Linked DNA regions of Homo sapiens: all the other regions are linked to region 3. The links are contacts of gene promoters, found by promoter capture Hi-C in blood cells and fetal thymus (Javierre and others, 2016). All regions are on one chromosome and are shown on one strand. Each heading gives the region's core, a stretch centred on a gene start or on the middle of the fragment in contact. The rest is flanking DNA. Distances are from core to core; before and after follow the strand shown. Region 1 overlaps LENG8 (leukocyte receptor cluster member 8). Region 2 holds the start of CACNG8 (calcium voltage-gated channel auxiliary subunit gamma 8). Region 3 holds the start of SPACA6 (sperm acrosome associated 6).

What was found. Contacts are between HindIII fragments. The CHiCAGO score rates a contact against its expected background, and 5 or more counts as called.
Region 1: a fragment that was not itself captured here is called in contact with the fragment with the promoter of SPACA6 in region 3 in 1 of 17 cell types (non-activated CD4 T cells); the score reaches 7.1 in non-activated CD4 T cells.
Region 2: the fragment with the promoter of CACNG8 here is called in contact with the fragment with the promoter of SPACA6 in region 3 in 3 of 17 cell types (activated CD4 T cells, naive B cells and naive CD8 T cells); the score reaches 8.2 in activated CD4 T cells.

Annotation. Positions count from the first base shown.
Region 1 is chr19:54,455,147-54,457,846 of GRCh38, forward strand. It overlaps LENG8 (leukocyte receptor cluster member 8), which reads left to right. Exons shown (of 16, transcript NM_052925.4): 8 at 218-421; 9 at 821-1,099; 10 at 1,179-1,319; 11 at 1,490-1,775; 12 at 2,601-2,700. Among named protein-coding and RNA genes, the nearest start is that of LENG9, 7.3 kb to the right of the region's middle. The HindIII fragment of the contact is 6,641 bases long and covers 1-2,700 here.
Region 2 is chr19:53,961,661-53,964,360 of GRCh38, forward strand. CACNG8 (calcium voltage-gated channel auxiliary subunit gamma 8) reads left to right here and starts at 1,277. Exons shown (of 4, transcript NM_031895.6): 1 at 1,277-1,765. The coding sequence starts at 1,483. RefSeq lists an enhancer at 118-638. The HindIII fragment of the contact is 5,876 bases long and covers 1-2,700 here.
Region 3 is chr19:51,691,906-51,694,605 of GRCh38, forward strand. It overlaps SPACA6 (sperm acrosome associated 6), which reads left to right and starts at 1,425. Exons shown (of 9, transcript NM_001316972.2): 1 at 1,425-1,835; 2 at 2,573-2,650. The coding sequence starts at 1,622. SPACA6-AS1 (SPACA6 antisense RNA 1) reads right to left here and starts at 1,551. Exons shown (of 2, transcript NR_108100.1): 1 at 729-1,551. MIR99B (microRNA 99b) reads left to right here and starts at 707; the gene lies at 707-776. It overlaps MIRLET7E (microRNA let-7e), which reads left to right and starts at 881; the gene lies at 881-959. It also overlaps MIR125A. The HindIII fragment of the contact is 8,848 bases long and covers 1-1,772 here.

The DNA of each region.
Region 1 (2,700 bases), core at 185-2,684, 2.8 Mb after region 3:
TGGTCCAGTCCCACTGGCCAGCTGCCCACCCTGAGCCTCAGTGTGCGCCTCTGAAAAGGGCAGAAGGACCCTCTCTTGGGGGTTGCTGTGAGCACTGAAGGAGACAGAAGGAAAACTTGGGGACTGCGTCCCGCTGTGTCAGCTCAGAGTGGCGGTGGGGATGGTCTTTTGAGTTTGGGATCGTCTCCAGCTGAGCCCCTCATCTGTCCTCCCGCAGCGGGTCCTCTGCCCGGGGGAACCTGTCTGGGAAGCCGGATGACTGGCCCCAGGACATGAAAGAGTATGTGGAGCGCTGCTTCACCGCCTGTGAGTCGGAGGAGGACAAGGACCGCACGGAAAAGCTGCTCAAGGAGGTGCTGCAGGCGCGGCTGCAGGACGGCTCGGCCTATACCATTGACTGGAGCCGGGAGCCCTTGCCGGGGTTAGTCTGGGTGGGGGACATAGGTGGGAGGGTGGTGCTGTGAGAGGCATGGGCTGGGTATGGAGGTAGGAGAGTTGCGGGTCCCAGGTACCAGGAGCTCCAAAGAGAAATGAACTGGAAAGTTGGATCCTGGGGGGATGAAGTCCTGGTTGGAGGGAGGCCGGTGGGGTGGGGTGGGGACCATGGGTGCTGGAGAGGCGTGCATTGCTCAGTGGTTAAGCGCACCCTCTGGAGACGGAAAACCTGGGTTCGCGTCTCATTTCTGCACTGTAGTAGCTGAGCCGCCTGGGGTAAGTGCCTTTCCTTTCGGAGGCGGGTCGGTACCTTGAGGGAGGTGGTGGCGGCTGTCCTGCCAGTGTCTGGCGGGGTTGGTGACGCCCTGCCCTGCTGTATTCTCAGGCTGACCCGGGAGCCTGTGGCTGAGAGCCCTAAGAAGAAGCGGTGGGAGGCCGCTAGCAGCCTTCACCCTCCTAGAGGGGCAGGCTCGGCGACAAGGGGCGGGGGTGCCCCGTCCCAGCGAGGGACGCCCGGGGCTGGGGGTGCCGGTCGAGCCCGGGGCAACAGCTTCACCAAGTTTGGCAACCGCAACGTCTTCATGAAGGACAACAGCTCTTCTTCCAGCACAGACTCCCGCTCCCGCTCCTCCTCCAGGTCCCCGACGCGCCACTTCCGCAGAAGGTACTGAGGCTCCCGGCTGGGGCTGTGTGTGAGGGAGGGGGAGGCGTTTCAGGCCTGACCCTCCTGCTTCTTCCTGCAGTGACTCCCACTCAGACTCCGACAGCTCCTACTCAGGGAATGAGTGTCACCCTGTGGGCCGCAGGAACCCGCCCCCTAAGGGCCGGGGCGGTCGAGGGGCCCATATGGATCGGGGCCGAGGCAGGGCGCAGCGTGGGAAGAGGTGAGACTGTGTGAGGGCTCGACACACGGGCCAGGGTGGAGGAGGGTACTGGGGACCCATGGGAGAAGGAGGAGGAGGGCCGGACAGGTGGACAGCCAGCTGCCAAAGGGGCGAGGCTGAAGGGGGGCTGGAGACGCCTGTCGCGCTCACTGCCCCTCATCCCTTCCTAGGCACGATCTGGCGCCCACCAAGCGCAGTCGAAAGAAGATGGCGGCGCTGGAGTGTGAGGACCCGGAGCGAGAGCTGAAGAAGCAGAAGCGGGCAGCCCGCTTCCAGCACGGACACTCCCGCCGCCTGCGCCTCGAGCCCCTGGTGCTGCAGATGAGCAGCCTGGAGAGCAGTGGGGCTGACCCTGACTGGCAGGAGCTGCAGATCGTGGGCACCTGCCCTGACATCACCAAGCACTACCTGCGCCTCACCTGTGCCCCCGACCCGTCCACCGTGCGCCCTGTGGCAGTAAGTGCCCAGCAGGGCAGTTCTGCTCTGTGAGGCCGTGCTGGCTCAGGACTTGGGGAGCCAACCCAGGGAGGGTGGCAGAGGCCACACGGGGGCTCTGGTATGGCAGGGGAAGCTCGGCCAGAGACGCCTCGGCTGGTCGGCATTCTGAGAGGAGCGCAAAGGCGCTCTGCTGCCCTGGAGCCCCGCGTGGCGGGTGTGCAGCTTGGCCGGCGAATCGCTTGACCTCTGGGCCGTGGTTCCTGGCTTAGGTGACACGGAGCATAAAGCCTTCTCCCAGGCCCGTGGGCTGTGGGGCGTGGGGGGCTGTGTTTCCAGTGTTTGGCGTAGTCACTGTTCTGCTGCAGAACCTGTGAACAGCCATGTGCTTATAGGGAAATGGGTGTGGAGGTGGCCACTCTTAACCCATGTCTTGTGGGTTTGTTTTCTCTTTTTTTGGGAGAGAGTCTGGCTCTGTCGCCCAAGCTGGAGTGCAATGGCGTGATCTTGGCTCACCGCAGCCTCCGCTCCCCGGCTTCAAGCGATTCTCCTGCCTCAGCCTCCCTAGTGGCTGGGATTACAGGCGTCTGCCACTACGCCTGGCTGATTTTTGTATTTTTAGTAGAGACGGGGTTTCACCATGTTGGCCAGGTTGGTCTCAAACTCCTGACCTCAGATGATCCACACACCTCGGCCTCCCAAAGTGCTGGGATTACAGGCGTGAGCCACTGCGCCTGGCCTTTTTTTTCTTTTTTTAATGTTGCAACTCTCCCACCAAATAAGTGGAAGCCGTTGGCCACGCTACCTGAGTTGTACTCCGAGTGTGAATTCAGTTCCCTTTTTCAGGTTTTGAAAAAGTCGCTGTGCATGGTCAAGTGCCACTGGAAAGAGAAGCAGGACTACGCGTTTGCCTGCGAGCAGATGAAGTCGATCCGGCAGGATCTGA
Region 2 (2,700 bases), core at 27-2,526, 2.3 Mb after region 3:
GTGCATTAGAATTCCCCAGGGAGCTTTTAAAAACTTACATGCGCAGGCCACACTGCAGACCAACCATGTCGGACTTTCTCAGGTGGGACTCAAACATCCGAATTTTTAAGGTCCTCGGGTGATTTCCAGGTGTGTTGGAGGCTGCCCGAGGCAGGAAGGGGGCTTCCAGGGAGAGGAGGCTGACTGAGGGTGGCTGGTGATTCCGAGTTGCACAAACTGTGAGGGTCAGCTGGGATTTTCTTTTTCTTTTTCTTCTTCTTTTAATTTTTCCTTTTTAGTTGAAGAGAGGTTGAGAGATTTATTTTTTCCTAAGGAGAGGAAACTGTGGGGGACCATTTGGAGTGATGGAATGACAAAAGCCAGACCGGAGGGGGCTCGCGGAGGTTACTCCCACGGAAGTGGTGCTACTCGGGCTTCTTAAGTTGTGGAGACGCTCAGGGAAAAGTTGGGCTGACAGGGAAGGGTTCTAGCGGGTGGAGAGGTGGGGCTTGCAGGGGAAGAGTGGGGAGAGCTGGTGGGCGCCGCATGGTGATGGGGCGGGGGTCGCTAAGGAAGGAAGAACGCGACGGGGGCTCCTGGGGAGGAGGCGGCGGCGTGGGGCTTGGCATCATGGCGGGGGGTGGCTTCCCATGCGATGAGGATCGTGGAGCCCCCTGGGGCGGAGGCGGCGCGGGCTAGGGGCGAGGGCTGTGAGTGTGAGCGGTGGTGGGGACTCCTCCGAGTGGGGTTAGTGGGATGGTGGGACGACTTTCTTGGGCAGAAGACAGGAGTGGAGAGAGATTTCATCTTATTTATTAATTATTAGCGGTGGTGGGGACTCCTCCGAGTGGGGTTAGTGGGATGGTGGGACGACTTTCTTGGGCAGAAGACAGGAGTGGAGAGAGATTTCATCTTATTTATTAATTATTAGCGGTGGTGGGGACTCCTCCGAGTGGGGTTAGTGGGATGGTGGGACGACTTTCTTGGGCAGAAGACAGGAGTGGAGAGAGATTTCATCTTATTTATTAATTATTAGCGGTGGTGGGGACTCCTCCGAGTGGGGTTAGTGGGATGGTGGGATGACTTTCTTGGGCAGAAGACAAGAGTGGAGAGAGATTTCATCTTATTTATTAATTATTATTATTATTATTATTATTATTATTATTTTTGAGAAAGAGAAGCAGTGGAGCCCCGAGTGGAAGGAGTTTCTGGAGCTGAGGCAGGGATTTTGGGGGGGGGGGGGCGGGGACTGGGGGAGGTACCTGTGCCTTCTTCTCCTCTAATGCGAGATCTCGCTCCTTGCCCTCCACCAGCCGCCGACCATGGCCGCGCTCTGACCCCCTCCCCGGCCGCAGCCTCCTCCTCGCCGCCCCCCTCCCCAGCCCCGCCGGCCCCGGGCCCCCCGCTTCTGCCTGCGCTGTGAACCCCCCCCCAGCCGCCGGCACGGCCCCGCCCCCGCTGCCCCGGTGGTGGCCCACGGCCCCCCGGCTGCCCGTGGTCAAACTGGAGTCGCTGAAGCGCTGGAACGAAGAGCGGGGCCTCTGGTGCGAGAAGGGGGTGCAGGTGCTGCTGACGACGGTGGGCGCCTTCGCCGCCTTCGGCCTCATGACCATCGCCATCAGCACTGACTACTGGCTCTACACGCGCGCCCTCATCTGCAACACCACCAACCTCACGGCCGGCGGCGACGACGGGACCCCCCACCGCGGGGGCGGCGGCGCCTCGGAGAAGAAGGACCCCGGCGGCCTCACGCACTCGGGCCTCTGGAGGATCTGCTGCCTGGAAGGTAGGGTGCGGGCGGCCCTCCCCGCAGCCCCCGCCGCTCCCCTCCGAGAGACCCTGAGCCTCCCGGGGCTGCCTGTCCCTGATCCTGGGGCCCCCTTGGGCACCCCTCCTCCTCTGCCAGAGGGGCTTCTGCGCCTTCCCACTCGCGCCCCTGACCTCCTCTCCCCTCCTTCCCACTCCTCCCTGCGTCCTGGCACCCTGCGGAATTCCTCGGCATGCTCCCTCTGCAGCCCCTCTGCCTCTCCGCTGAACCCCCTTATCCTATCTTTCCCTAGTCCGTGTCTCCTGCGCTGCCCCATCACACCCCTGCATCTTCCCTCTCTCCAGTACCTGGGGCTCCTCCTGTTTCATTTCTTCCACTCTGCCCTGTGCCTTTTCTCTTTTTTTTTTTTTTTTTGACAAGGTCTCACTCTGTCGCCCAGGCTGGAGTACGGTGGCACAATCACAGCTCACTGCAGCCTCGAATCCCTAGGCTCAAGCCATCCTCCCACCTCTGCCTCCTGAGTAGCTGGGACCACAGGCATGAGCCACTGTGCCCAGCTAATTTTTTTTATTATTTGTAGAGATGAGGTCTCCTGTTGCCCAGGCTGGTCTCGAGCTCCTGAGCTCAAGAGATCCTCCTGCCTTGGCCTCCAAAGTGCTGGGATGAAGGGCATGAGCCACTGCACCCAGCAGCCTCTTTCTCCCTCTTTCCCGTCAGTTCATCTTGACCCTGCTCCTCCGCTCCACCTGCCCCTTCATTTCCTCTCCCTCGTGCCCCGTGACATCTTCTCTCTCCCGACATTTCCCCCCCAGTCCTCTGAAGTCCCCTGCCTCTCCCGCCCCCTTTCACGGCCCAGTCTTCCGGTCTGTCTCTTTCCCCTTCTCTTTGGCTGCTGCTCCCCTGAAACTTCGTGCCTTAACTCGCCCTCACTCATGACTTTCTCTCTTTTCTGC
Region 3 (2,700 bases), core at 175-2,674:
CTTTGGGAGCCTCTTCCCCTCTCTGAGGCTCAGCCCCCTCACCTGCCAAATGGGGATGCTGAGGGCACCTCGCTCTCTGGAGTGGGAGGTGTCAGGGAGAGGACTGGTGCTCAGGGCCTGGTATGGGGTCAGCGCTGGGAGATTGTGGCTGTCATAGTTGTAAATGACCCAAAGAAGGGAGGAGAGAGGAAAGAAAGCACCTAGGGAGGCTCTGATGGTTGGCTAGCCCCTGGCCTCCTTAGCCCTGGGCCTGGAGTCTCTGCAGACTGACAGGAGGGTAGGTAGGAAGCAGGTGTGCCCAAAGGGCCAAATTACGAGACAAATGAGGTTCCCTCCCAGCCGGCACCCAGGAAGCCAGGTTTTCTATCAGGCCATGCCTTCCCCAGGAGGCCTGCCTGGCCGGAGGGAGGAGGGGCTGGGGGCAGGGACTCCTGGGTCTCTGGGGAGAAGGAGGCTTTGGATCTGGACTCATGAGTCTGAGGGAGGAAGGGGCTGAGTCCTTGGATTCCAGGAACATTTGGGGAGAAAAGGGCCAGAGGCCTGGATTCCTGGGTCTGTGGTGAGGAAGGGCCTAGACTTCTGGGTTCTTTAGGGAGGAGGGGGATGAGAGCCTTGACTCCAGGGTCCCTGATGAGGAAGGGGCTGAGGGCCTGGACTCCTGGGTTCCTTGGGGAGGAGGGGCCGGGGGCCCGGACTCCTGGGTCCTGGCACCCACCCGTAGAACCGACCTTGCGGGGCCTTCGCCGCACACAAGCTCGTGTCTGTGGGTCCGTGTCGGGGGCTCACCATCGCGGCTGGGGCCTCCCCGGCCCTCCCCCTCATCCCTGGTCCTCCTGGTCCCTGTCTGTCTGTCTGTCGGGTCTGTCCACCTGCCGCGCCCCCCGGGCTGAGGTAGGAGGTTGTATAGTTGAGGAGGACACCCAAGGAGATCACTATACGGCCTCCTAGCTTTCCCCAGGCTGCGCCCTGCACGGGACGGGGCCCGGCGGGGACCCCCAGCCCCACTCAGGGACCCTTAGCCCCACTGGGCTGCCCCAGGGACCCTGGGAGGAAGAGCCGGGCTCTTTTCTGTCCTTGTCCCTGCATCCCCTCCTTCCCCTGAAATCTGTTTTCCTTCCCTGTCTGTCTCCATCTCTGCTGTGTCTCTGTGGCTTCTGTGTCTCTTTCACAGTGGATCCTCTGACTCCCTCTTATTCTGGCTTTCTAGGTCTCTGCCCCTCCCGATATCTCTCTGTGTCTCTATTTCTGTCGTTTTTGGTCTTTCTGTCTCTGGCTCTCAGAATGTCTCTGTGCCTATCTCCATCTCTGACCCCCACCCCAGGGTCTACCGGGCCACCGCACACCATGTTGCCAGTCTCTAGGTCCCTGAGACCCTTTAACCTGTGAGGACATCCAGGGTCACAGGTGAGGTTCTTGGGAGCCTGGCGTCTGGCCCAACCACACACCTGGGGAATTGCTGGCCTGACTTCTGACCCCTGACTCCTCATACCCTTCCTCCAGAGCATGACATTTGACCACCAACTGAAACCTGACCTCTGACCCCAGACCACTGGCCCTTCCCCCGCCCTGTGGTGACTTCATAAAGGTTACTAGCTTCTCCCCTGGCCTTGAGACCCACACGATGGCCCTGCTGGCTCTGGCCAGTGCCGTCCCGTCTGCCCTGCTGGCCCTGGCTGTCTTCAGGGTGCCCGCCTGGGCCTGTCTCCTCTGCTTCACAACCTACTCTGAGCGCCTCCGCATCTGCCAGATGTTTGTTGGGATGCGGAGCCCCAAGCTTGAAGAGTGTGAGGAGGCCTTCACGGCCGCCTTCCAGGGCCTCTCTGACACCGAAATCAGTGAGGAGACCATCCACACTTCATCAGTGTCCTGGGGAAGGTGCAGAGGGAGGGCAGGAGAGGCCCAGAGGGTCAGGCTGAGGGACAGACAGAGAGAAACAGTCAGAGGAGAAAGGCTCAAAGACCATGAGAACAACAGAGACTTAGGGACAGAGAGACACAGACAGGGGAAGACAGCAGGGCAAAGACTCAGAGAGGGGAGGATGGAGAGTCAGAGAGGGGAAGATGGAGACTCAGAGAGGGGGAGGATGGAGACTCAGAGAGAGAGGAAGATGGAGACTCGGAAAGATGGAGACTCAGGAGTATGGAGAGTCAGAGAGGGGAGGATGGACACTCGGGAGGATGGAGAGTCAGGAGGATGGAGACTCATAGAAAGGGGAGGATGGAGAGTCAGGAGAGGTTGGAGACTGGAGAGGGAATAGAGACCCAGAGAGGGGAGGATGGAGACTCAGAGGGTGGAAGATGGAGACTCAAAGAGGATGGAAACCCAGAGAGAGGAGGACAGAGATGAGGCAGAGACTAGGGGAAGCAGGATAGCGACTGGTCGGGGGCAGAGACTCAGGGAGGATAGAGACTTGGGAGGGACTCAGGAAGCATAGCGACTGTGGGGCAAAGAGTCAGAGAGGGGAGGATACAGACTTGGGAGGGCAGAGACTCAGAAACAGAATGTTCGCATTAGGGACATGGTGTTGCGGGGAGCTGCCTCCCCCAGCCCCTGCTCCCTCCCTCACCGCCAGACTATGATGAGAGAAGCCACCTGCATGACACCTTCACCCAGATGACCCATGCCCTGCAGGAGCTGGCTGCTGCCCAGGGTGAGTGTGTGGGGATGGGGAGATGGGAGATGTGGACTTGGAGCCCCTAA